Linked DNA regions of Homo sapiens: all the other regions are linked to region 1. Evidence: promoter capture Hi-C in human tissues and cell types (Jung and others, 2019). All regions are on one chromosome and are shown on one strand. Each heading gives the region's core, a stretch centred on a gene start or on the middle of the fragment in contact. The rest is flanking DNA. Distances are from core to core; before and after follow the strand shown.

Region 1 (3,850 bases), core at 647-3,146:
TCAAGGCTACAGCTACCTCTAAATGGAGCACACTCCACACCCTAGTGTGCTGGTAATTATTCGTGGCAACAAAATAGGTGTTCTTTCCCTCACCTTGGCTTAGTCATACATTTGAACCATGCATGAGCTTCTGAAGATCCACTGGCCTTCCACAGGTTTACACTTTCTGCACAGGAAGGCTGCGAGAACACACAGCTCAATGTTCAGAGACCATAGGTGGCCAAGGGCCTGAGTGCACATGTGCAGTGGCACCAGGATGGTAACCACAGCACCTCAGCCACAGCGACCACAGACACTGGAGGTAAGAAGGGCCACTGGCTCTCATCAGAGCTTTTCCTATAAATCCTGCCATTTCAAGAAACCAACATCCCTGATTGTTCTCGGTGGGATTTCTCACCATTTTGAGGAATCTATGTTCATCCTTCTCTAGATGAGCACATGGTTCTTGTTTCAGAAATTTACACACATATATACCAAGAAAAAAATGGCATAAATGCTACCACATCTAAATAGATGCTGGACCTGGAAGTCCCAAGGCATATTTTAACCGTGGGATTAGGATTCAGGTGGACTGGCATGAAATAAAACGCACACATACCTTCCAGGCCCGTGCACCACCACGGACGTAGACATCACAGGGTGTGTGCATATCTTTTATAATTTTCCTCTATATGACCTCTCTTAAAAAATCCCTTCTGACCTGCATCCATGTGACATTTCATACTTAAAACGCTGTCCTACTTTCCTTTCCCACTGAAAGGCAATATATTTAGGAACAGTCATAAAATGTATTCACGGAACAGCCTGCAGTGTGGTCGCTGAACGTGTGTGCACCGTGCCTGGACACACTCACAGGTGCAGCAGAGAGGGAGCCGGTTTGAATGAAACCTTTCATCTTCTCTCTCACCGACCAAGCATCTCCTTGCCAAATCCAGGAGCAATTCCGCGCAAACCTGGTTTTCAAAAGCAGCCTCTTTTGTGGGGCATTGCGGGGCTGTGCGTGCGCTCCCACTAGGAGGAAAAAATGCCATTTCCTCTCCGCAAGCTTTTAGCACTGCAGGTACTAATTTGAACATGAGGCAGCCTCGCTGTCCCTGAAGGAACTTGAGACCCTGCAAACGTACTTGCAACACCCACGCTGCAGCCACCACCACGCACGAATCGACCCCATCCACAAGCACACATCACTGGCCCGGGCACACGGAAAAGCACACACACAATAAGAGGCCGGGCCCGGCCACTCCTTCCTTGGTTCCCGCTCCGCAGCCAGTTCTGACAATGACAAGCACCTCTCCCAGCTCCTCCGCCCTGGCTCTCCATCTCCACTAACAACGCGAAAAGCCTGGGAGGGCCCGCTCGCCTGACTCCAGGTTTAAAGCCCCATGGCACCAAACAAAAGAGGCAGGTGCCAGCAGCCCCGGGGCCGCCCGCACGCAACGCCCCCGGGTCGGGCCAGGCTGGCCAGGGCAGGGCGGCCGCCTTTCGAGGAACTGCGGGCGGGGCGGCGGGGCCAAGCTGAGCGCCCGCCCTGCCCTCGGCGCCCCGCGGCTGCGGGCGGAGCGGGCTCTGCGGAGTCCCCCGGCCGCCCTCCCCGCAGCTCCCGTCCCCAGGGAAGGCAAACCACGCACCGGTCCGCGGAGAGACGCCGCCGGGGGTCTTTGTGGCCGCGCTGGGGGCCGCCTCCTGGTGCTGTCCTCGCCGGGCTGGGCGCGGCCGGGGCTGCGGGGCTGCAGGGCTGGGGGGCGGCGGCGGGGCCGGGCTGGGCGGCAGCAGCTGCTGGAGCGCGGCGCCTCGGTTGCGGCCACTAGTGCAGGGATGTGCCTCGGCCCGTCCTCATTGAAATGCGGCGCTTCGCACAGCCTCACTCCAGCCTCTCTCTCCAGAGGAGGGCGGCGGCGGCGGCGGCGGCGGGCGCGCTCCCTTTTCTTGTCTCACTCGCTCACACGCCCTCCCGTCTCCCTCCTCCTCCTCCTCCTCCGCGTGCGCGCCCCGTCGCCCCCGCCCTTCTTGGCAGGGCGCACCCACCACGGCTGCGCCCCAGGTCCTCCTCCCTCCCAGCGCCCTCTTCCCACCGCAGCAACCTCGGTGCATCTGGCTTGACTACACCCCTAAACCTCCCTAGTCCCCACAAGTAGTCTTTGGGAGATGGGGGCAGATCAGATGGTGGAAGAGAACGTGGACAGGGCTGAGTCTGAGCCAGGAAGTGTGCAAGGCACAGAGGTGATATGGCCGAGAGATGAGGCCCCCACCGTCGGGGGAGGGAAGGAGGTACCCACACTCATACCTTTTGATGTGACCTCACGGTCTGACACCTTTCCCAGGGTATGGAAGCCAGTGGATCACCTTCTCATCCTTTTTGCCCGGGATGCACCCACGCAGTGCCTCTTCGGATGACCAACCCTCCCAAGCTATGCACTCTGGTGCCCCCCACATTGGGAAGAGCTGGATCTGTTCATGGATCCCACCCATCATCTCCACTTAACCCCAAGACATGAGTCACTCTTGGAATAGTGACCTCTGCTTAGAGTCAAATATGTTCCAAAGGGCCCTTGAGAACTGAAGGGCCAGGTTTCACTGCTGGACACTTTGTGGCTGCCAAGGCTGGGTCTGCGGTGGAAAGCCCCATGAGCTCATGCGAGCCTCTCCTCCCAGAGGGGGAATGTTCTCCTAGCCCAGGCTGTTCACAGCTTCCTCCAGTCTTTGCACAAAAGTCCAGGGAGTGGGAGCAGCTCCCAGATTTCGGTGAAATCTTAGACTGGCTCAGTACGCAGCCTGAATTTTGATCCAGTTAATCTGACTTTCAATCCTGTCGTCCACAACCTGTGTTTGTCCCAAATACACATGAGTATACAAAATACACATAAGTATTTTTCTCTCTTCCTGAGCCTACACCTTTCAATGGAACATTAAAATTTTATTTTTCTCTTGCCCATTGATCCCAGTTATGTGTTTGACTACTTATTATTAAAAAGTTCTATTCTGAAATACTTTCCAAGTATGATGTAAATGTTAAATAATTACCATTTGTTTTAAAACACAGCTCAAATGAGATCCATGCTACATATTCCACAAGTGATGCGATATTTATTTTTGAACTATTTAATAGCCCAGAGATGAGAGTACAGTGAACTCACCAAATTAACTAAATGCAAAGTAGTAAGCCTATTCTTTCACATTCTGAGGCAAAATGAGAGCCATAGGGGTAAATTAAGAGAAAGGAAGAAGCCAAGTACATCTTCTGGAGAACAGAAATCAGAGCTTCTTTTTATCTTGCCAATGACAAATGCCAAGTGATTTCTTCCAAAATGCTAAGCCAAGAAATAAATTTCATCTCTTAACCCCTATGGATATTCTACTAGGGTCATTTCTTAAGAGCTTTAAGTAACTCACCATCATCTTACCTCTTCCTAGCTGTTGTACCTAGCACACACAGATAATGTGTTCAGAGAATCACCTTGGTGTTTGACTCTCTCAGTAGCAAAGTGCTCTCACTAGAAATAGTTGGGCATCATTAGCTCTTTAAGGAAACCAGGGGGCAACTGATAATTAAGTAGATGAAGACATTAAATAGTATACATTGGCCCTACAGTATGGTCATATCATTTAGTCCAGGACAGCAGGCTGGTACTAAAGTTCATTCCAGGGCAGCTTAAGCATTTGGCAAATCTAATTTATATTCAACAATAATTCCTTATTGAAATGAAATCTAACTAGAAAACTCCTAATTCAAGTAATTTTCAAAAACGAATGCTACTTCCTTTATATTACTAAGATATTGATCAAAGAAGTGAATGGAACTAATACATCCTTTCCCCCAGGATCATCTGAAAGTATTGGAGATCTCATTCTA
Region 2 (3,823 bases), core at 128-2,627, 94 kb before region 1:
TGGAAGCACCTCCCCGTAAGACATGCCCATCAGTGTGCCATGTCAGTTTACCATTGCCATAACACCCATAAGTTACCACCCCTTTCCATGGAAACAACCTCACAACCTGGAAGTTTCTGCCTAAACTGCCTTTTAATTGGCATATAAAAAGTGGGTATAAATATGACTGCAGAACTGCCTCTGAGCTGCTCCTCTGGGCACACTGCCTAAGAGGTAGCCCTCTCCTCAAGGAGCAGCATCTCTGCTGCTGCTGTGCACTCTACCGCTTCAATAAACCCTGCTGTCCAACACCACCGGCTCGACCTCGAATTCTTTCCTGGGCAAAGCCAGGAATCCTTTGGGGCTAAGCCCCAGTTTGGGGGCTTGCCTGTCCTGTGTCAGTGTGGTATGTTTTTTCTTGGACTCCTTGAACGGCAAGTCGAATAAATACCTTGATGTTCTACATAACACTAGACCACCATTTACTACGGATTGTAATCACAATGACTCCTTATATTTTTATGTGCTTTTGAACCCAAAAGGATATATGTGTGTGTATGTGTAGGTATAAGATCATATACGGTATATATGATATATATAACATAGAAAGTCACATTTTATTTACATATTAAGTTATCAGATTTTATACATGTTAAACATTTATATACTATACATTTATAATTTTAATGAATAATACGTTAATTTTGAATGTAATTGTTGGTAAAGCTCTTTAGGAAGGTTAAAAACAGCATTATCTCTATCCTTAAAAAACTTTCTAAAAAATGAAAAATAGAACTATGATATGATCCAGCAATTCCTCTACTGGGTGTATATCCAAAAGAAAGGAAATCAATATATTGAAGAAATGTCTGCACTCCCATGTCTATTGCAGCGCTAGTCACAATAGCCAAGACATGGAATCAATCTAAGTTTCTATCAATGGATGAATGGATAGAAAAATGTGATATATATATCACACACACACACAGTGGAATATTATTCAGCCATAAAAAAGAATGAAATCCTGTCATCTGCAGCAACATGAATGGAACTGGAGGCCATTATGATAAGTGAAATAAACCAAATGCAGAAAGACAAATATCACCTGTTCTCTCTCATATGTGGAAGCTTTAAAAAAAAATGATCTCATGAAGATAGAGAATAGAACTGTGGTTACCAGAAGCCAGAAAGGGTAGGGGTTGAGGAGGATGAAAGAAGTTGATTGAAGGGTACAAGCACACAGTTAGATAGAATAAATAAGGCCTAGTGTTCCATAGAGCAGTAGGGTGAGTATAGTTAACAATAACATATTACATATTTAAAAATAGAAGAGAATTTTTCTAATGTTCCTAGCATAAAGAAAAGATATATATTTAAGGTGGTGGATATCCCGATTACCCTAATGTGACCTTTTTTCTCGTGGTTTTTGTTTTGTTTTGTTTTGTTTTGAGATGGAGTCTCCCTCTGTTGCCCAGGCTGGAGTGCAGTGGTGCGATCTCAGCTCACTGCAACCTCTGCCTCCTGGGTTCAAGCGATTCTCGTGCCTCAGTCTCCCAAGTACCTGGGATTACAGGTGTGCATCACCACACCCAGTTAATTTTTGTATTTTTAGTAGAGACGGAGTTTCACCATGTTGGCCAGGCTGGTCTCAAACTCCTGACCTCAGATGATCTGCCTGTCTCAACCTCCCAAAGTGCTGGGATTACAGGCATGAGCCACCATGCCCGGCCACCCTGATGTGATCTTTACACATTATATGAATTTATCTAATTATCACATGTATGTGATAATGTATCAATTAAAAAAAGAAAATTTAAAAAATAGAAAGAAAATCTAATCCCCTACTGTAAAAAAAGAACTTCCAAGGTTCCATGGGTATGGCTTATAATGTGTCAGAGACACATTAAGACTTTTAAGATACAGCTCACTGCAGCCTGAGTGGTAATAAAAGGAAGACTTTGTGAACAAAGAAAGCCTCTTGGAGGCGGTGACTGTGACATTTATTTTTCCTAGATATGTCCAGTAATTTATTGAATCCAAGAGAATAATGGAGAAGCAAGAGACCATCAACCTCATCTTTGGTAGCTTTCTCATTTTATGAACAAGGAAGCTGGGTCCCATAAAAGCTCAGTGACTTGTTACCTTGCTTGCTAAGCTGGTAACAGTTCCCAAAGATGGGTGTGAATGAAGAGGCAGGACAGGTCACTGTCCCCACCATGGGTCCATCCCTGCCCCTGAGGTTTGTTTTAAGGCCCGGAGATGGTTCGGTCTTCCAGAGTGCTTCCTGGTTACAGGAATGAGAGCCTCCCAGGGGCAGGGCAGAGAATCCTGGAGAACCAAATACAGTAACAAGAGCCTAGAGCTTAGCTTTGGTCAGGAAAGAGAAGTGAGAGATGGAATACTGAGGTACCTATGGGGCAGAACTTTAAGTCAAGATCCCAAAGGAGCAATGATATTCTTTGGCACATACCTGTTTTTGTTTTAATCAAATGCATAATCTCAGAGGCTTTTCCAGTACATGTTCCTAAGCAACTTATGCACAACTGATCTTTTAGAAGCAACATATTTGGTGATGCTATTCAGGTAGGTGGGTAGGTAGCTGGCATGTCTTCCATAAATGCCAGCATGATAATGAAAATGCTTAATATCTATTTAATTTTACTAAGCGCTATGACAAGCACAGCAAAGTTACCTCCTTTAATACTACAACAATTAGTGTTCATGCGTTAGACACTATTTTTCTTTTTCATTTTGCAGATAAGGAAACTGAGGTGTAAAGTTAAGAATGTGTTCAAATATCTAGGAGGTAGCAGATTCAAGACTTGAATGAAGTTTCTCTAATTCCACAGCCAAGGATCTTGAGCACTCATTTTAGAATGTAATCCCCTGTGTGTAAAATTTATGTCTAACATTTCATGATTCACAGCACCATGTCCTATGACTAAAGAAAGTATTTCACATGACTTAGTAGTCATTCGTCAGGCGCCTACCAATGAAGAATCCTATCAAATGTCCAGCTGGCATTTTGATCTGTCACTGTTGTAGAAGATGCAGTTTTCAAATTTAAAAGCAACTTAGAAAAGATATAAATATCTCATTTCAGGTAAGGAATGAGTAGGAAATGGATTCAGGAGCACAGAGAATCTCAACAACTGATAAGGCTTTAAAAGAAAACTCCAGAAATAACTCTTGGCCACCATGTATTTCTGAAGTGTGAAACTGCAACCCATTGCCAGATCCTCTGAACAAAATCTGTGAAAAATCAAAGGACATAATCTGGTAGGATTTCTTCTGCCATTGGAGCTATACTGAGCTGCAGGCAATTCTGGCTGAAATGTTTCACTCTTCCAAAAGGTAGCAGCTGGCCTCTGGTATAAAAAGCAAATTGGTGAATAAAATTCACACTCTTCAAAATGTGCGAACATCGGTGATTTTTTTTCAGCACCACTTTCTTCTAAAGCTAAACCAGAGAGGCAAACACTGACTTTTAAAAATTCCCTTTTTATTTAAATTTCTGTCAATTTTCTTGGTAAAATGTTTTGTTGAAAGTATTGCATAGACAGGGTTACTGTGCACACATGTACACACACACACACATACAAATACACTGCCCTTCTATCTTCCAAAACTAAGCGACAAGGTAAAAAAAAAAATCTTTGATCCAGCTAAACAAAGACCTAATTTAATCATGAAATTCTGAAAGTATGACTAAGAGACATAAATATGTTGCTGTATTTTTATGAATTTATTAGCAAAACACTTTTGAACGCAGTGTCTAATAAAGTATATTTTCCCTAAATTTAAAATGAAGATGGCCTTACTAAGTAGCAGATATTTATATAAT
Region 3 (3,918 bases), core at 959-3,458, 110 kb before region 1:
TTCTTCTCATCCTTCAGATCCTGGCTTAAACATCCTTTTCCCCTACCATGTTCTAATGTGCCATTATTAATTCTCTCTCCCTCTCTCTCTCTCTCTTTCTCTCTCTCTCTCTCTCTCTCTCTCCCTATCCGCCCCCCCACACAATTTTTGATGTGATTGCATCTGCTCCGTGGGAGCAGTGATTATGTCTCTTTCATTCACCAATATATTTCCAGCCCTTGGCATATAGCAGATATTCAATACATTAATGAGGATTAGTTACACCAACATCCTCCAAATTTCTTCAGGAAATATGAAGTGCCATCTCTCATCTGCAATGAGTTTGAACCTGTGTTTTCTGAAGCTTTCCTGTTTAGCTTGAGGGTTAGTGACTCCCCATGTGGGATCCTTCCTTATTGACAAGCCTCAGTGATGAAGAAGGAAGGGGGAATCACCCAAAGCTGTTTTGCAGTAAAACCTGGGTAAACTAGCTCTTTAGGAATGGAAACCCTCAAATGAGCCAGCTTTTTAATTTTTTCCAATGGGGGAGTTCTGGTGTCTGGCATAGAGCTTTGGAAACAGAAGGCATTTAATATTTATTATATTAAACTACCAATCTTACCATAAGTTATTGGACTAGATGGAACTTAAGTTTTCTTTCAGCCAGAGCTTCTATGATGCTGTGATGTCAACATGCCTAACAATGAGCCTGTCACAACCTATTTTCAATCTTGCCCCTCTCCTAAAGCAGCCCTTACCCTGTAAAAGGCATCAACATCCAGCCATTAGCCCATACTACCAATCTAGGGCTTACCTGGAATCCATTTCTTTCTTTCACCACCCACACCTGCCAACCAGTGATCATTCCCAAAGGACTTTATTTTGCATCTGTGCTTTTTAATCCAATTGCCTTCTCCATCTCTCTCACTGACTAGTTCAGGCCCTCATTGTATTTATTCAGACTAGAGATGAAAAACATCAATTTGTTAGAAGACTGTCCTCATGACCATATTTATTCTGTCACACTTCTGCAAATCCAAGCATAAACAGGTTTAGAAATTAGAACCAGTTAACCAGCAAATCACTCAGTGGCTAGGACATCGAATACTTTCATATATTTATTTGGGTAATAACTACTGAGCAACCAGAAGGCTAGTGCATGGACAATTTACTTCATTTAGATGGTCTTGCCAAGAAATACTGATATAAACAACCAGATCAATTATGCAGTAAAATTCACATTTCGTGTTCAAATGGCTAGAATCACTAGTCTGGGGGAACTGCTGCTTTATACATGTAACCCCAGGCACAGACTAATGGAAAGCAACACAAACTGCTACATGCTTACTCTACAGAATAGGTTTGCAAATTTAACCTACAGTACATTAAAATGCAGCATATCTCATATTTGTATTAGCCATATTTTAATACAAACTTTCTGTATTTCCTTTCTGCCATTATCCTTCCCAGTCATATGAGTGAACTATTAATGATCAACTAGTCAAGGGGTCACCATTAAAAGGAGCCCTAAATAGCACAATGATTCCATTCCCTCCCCCATCAAGAAGCCATCCCAACCCAGCAATTAAACCAAGCAAATCAGGCTAACGGAGCATACACATAATGGTAGAAGAGAAAAGCACAGCCAATAATTACCAAACAGTCACTTTCTTTTATCTGGATTTCCTCTTCCCTATCATTCATCTCACGAGAGAAGCATACAATAAGGACATGACCCCATGAGTTTTTATCATGGATCCTGCAACAACCTGAACACATTTTCTTTATCCTCGAACAATAGAAACATAATGCAAGCCACATATGTGATTTTAAATGTTCTAGTAGCCACATTAATAAACTAAAAAGAAATAAATGAAATTAATTTTGATAATGTATTTAATCTAATAATCTAAAATGTTATTTTAACATGCAATCAGTATAAAAATTATTGAAATATTTTATATTATTTTATGGCATGAAGTCTTTGACACGGTGTGCGTACTTCACATTTACAACACACCTCAAGTCAGACTACTCTCATTTTAAGTTACACATGGCTAGTGGCACGAAATCAGACAGAACAACTCCAAACAAAAACATCCAACCAAATGAGAAAGGTTGCTCGATTTGCCTTGCAGAAAAATATCAGCAACTGCATAATACCTTAAGAAGGTGAATACTAAGCAGTTTGATAAAATAACACATGAATCCCTGTGAAAGCAAAGATGTATTTTTTTGAAAGGTAATAACATTTTTAGAAATAATAAAAAAGGAAGGAGACAAGGATCATAGCAACTTTTAATACAGAATTGGAGTTACTGATCGTATCTCCAAACTGCGGGATCTGTTCGTGGAATAATTATTTTCACAGCCTCTCAGAAGGAAGTGATCATATCCTTAAATAACTGAAAAACAAAACTCCAAGGCTAGACACAGAAGAACAGAATGTCAAGAGCAAAATGTCATTTAGACTGATGAAGATAGAATGTAACACAACTGGGAAAGTCCATAACCTTTGGAATTAAATAAAATCCAGTGCAGGGGATAGTTTGATACCCAACATTCTGGGAAACCAGAATTCTCTTTTAACCAACACATCTATAAAAACGTATGACTCGATAGCTAATGTTGTAGTGAGTACTCTGGGGTATGGTATGATCCAAACATGACTTCAGAATCAATGAAAAACTAAATGGTGTTCAATATCATTTTACAGCAGATATTTAATTGCATTCTCAATCTCTGAAACTAGTCATTAATATGGTGTGTGTAGGGTAATGCTTCACCAACCACCACATGGAATTATCAGAGCCCCCTCTTTACCTATCATTGCCAGATCTCAAAATTTACTGTTTATCTAGTTTTCTGTTTGCCATACAAAAAGCAGCCGCATTTTATTTCTTACATCCCACAACTGCAACTCTCATCACACACTTACACACACATGCATGCACAGACTGCAAACTCTTTGCCATAAGAAAGGACTTCCAACACTGACCTCTGCCCAGCACCATCCTCCCGACTCATTAGAGCCATCTGTGGCGAGAAGATTCAGTTTCCCAAGCACATGAGGTCAGTTCTAGATGATGGCAATTTTTAACTCTATTTGCACTGCTAATAACATCACTCAGTTCTTCTACGGCCTTTATTTCCACTATGGCCAGGAAAGATTAACACACTTGCCTACCACTGAAAATGTTTTAAATTCTGTTATTCAACAGGAGAATCTCTTTTATTTGACCAAGGAACTTAATGTGTTAGAGTGGTTCCTCTGCTGTTGATTTCTCTACACTACACATTATGATTGTAAAATTGTAACCAATTGTCATGTGTACCCTATAGACTCAGTTTGTACACATCCCTATACACAAATCCAATTTTGTACATAACCTTTCTATTGATTCATTTTCTTTTTTCAATTAAATATAAACAAAAATCTTTTCTCTTAAGGGAGCAAATTTGATTTATGGCATAAAATTCATAAGTTAATTTTCTTGTGCAGTTTATAACTTGAAGTTAATAATTATTTTAAGCATTCCTAAAAATCAGTTTAAAATGTTTTTCTATGCATGTTTCAAAATCATTAATCATCTTTTAGTCATCCTCAAACTGAGTCTGACAAATGTAGCATAATTATTTTTTACATGGTTGCTCAATTGAACAAATTACATGAATCAAAATGTATGCTTCTTTTATACACAACCAGTGCCTATTAATTTTGATTTCAAATGTGTTAATTTACTGTGAACATTTTATAAGGCTACCTATAAAGATTTTCTCATGGATAATTATTTATGGAAGAATATAATTTTTAAATAAAAAATTAGCTATCCAAAAGTATAAAATGTTGGGCAAAATTTTAAAAGTGTATCCCTTTCTCATTCAAATGTTTCTTTCATCCATATTTACTTTGCTGTGATATAAATTATACACATTATA

The links. The method cuts DNA at HindIII sites, captures the fragments that hold promoters and counts their contacts. A contact is called where the count stands out against the background at its distance.
Region 2: a fragment that was not itself captured here is called in contact with the fragment with the promoter of DCLK1 in region 1 in 4 of the 25 tissues and cell types used here (dorsolateral prefrontal cortex, mesendoderm cells, pancreas and 1 more).
Region 3: a contact is called between a fragment that was not itself captured here and the fragment with the promoter of DCLK1 in region 1, in 2 of the 25 tissues and cell types used here (dorsolateral prefrontal cortex and mesendoderm cells).

What each region holds. Positions count from the first base shown.
Region 1 is chr13:36,129,486-36,133,335 of GRCh38, forward strand. It overlaps DCLK1 (doublecortin like kinase 1), which reads right to left and starts at 1,897. Exons shown (of 17, transcript NM_001330071.2): 1 at 1,629-1,897. The HindIII fragment of the contact is 11,041 bases long and covers 1-3,850 here.
Region 2 is chr13:36,036,075-36,039,897 of GRCh38, forward strand. All of the region lies in intron 3 of DCLK1 (doublecortin like kinase 1), which reads right to left. Among named protein-coding and RNA genes, the nearest start is that of DCLK1, 93 kb to the right of the region's middle. The HindIII fragment of the contact is 7,729 bases long and covers 1-3,823 here.
Region 3 is chr13:36,014,908-36,018,825 of GRCh38, forward strand. All of the region lies in intron 3 of DCLK1 (doublecortin like kinase 1), which reads right to left. Among named protein-coding and RNA genes, the nearest start is that of DCLK1, 110 kb to the right of the region's middle. The HindIII fragment of the contact is 4,629 bases long and covers 1-3,918 here.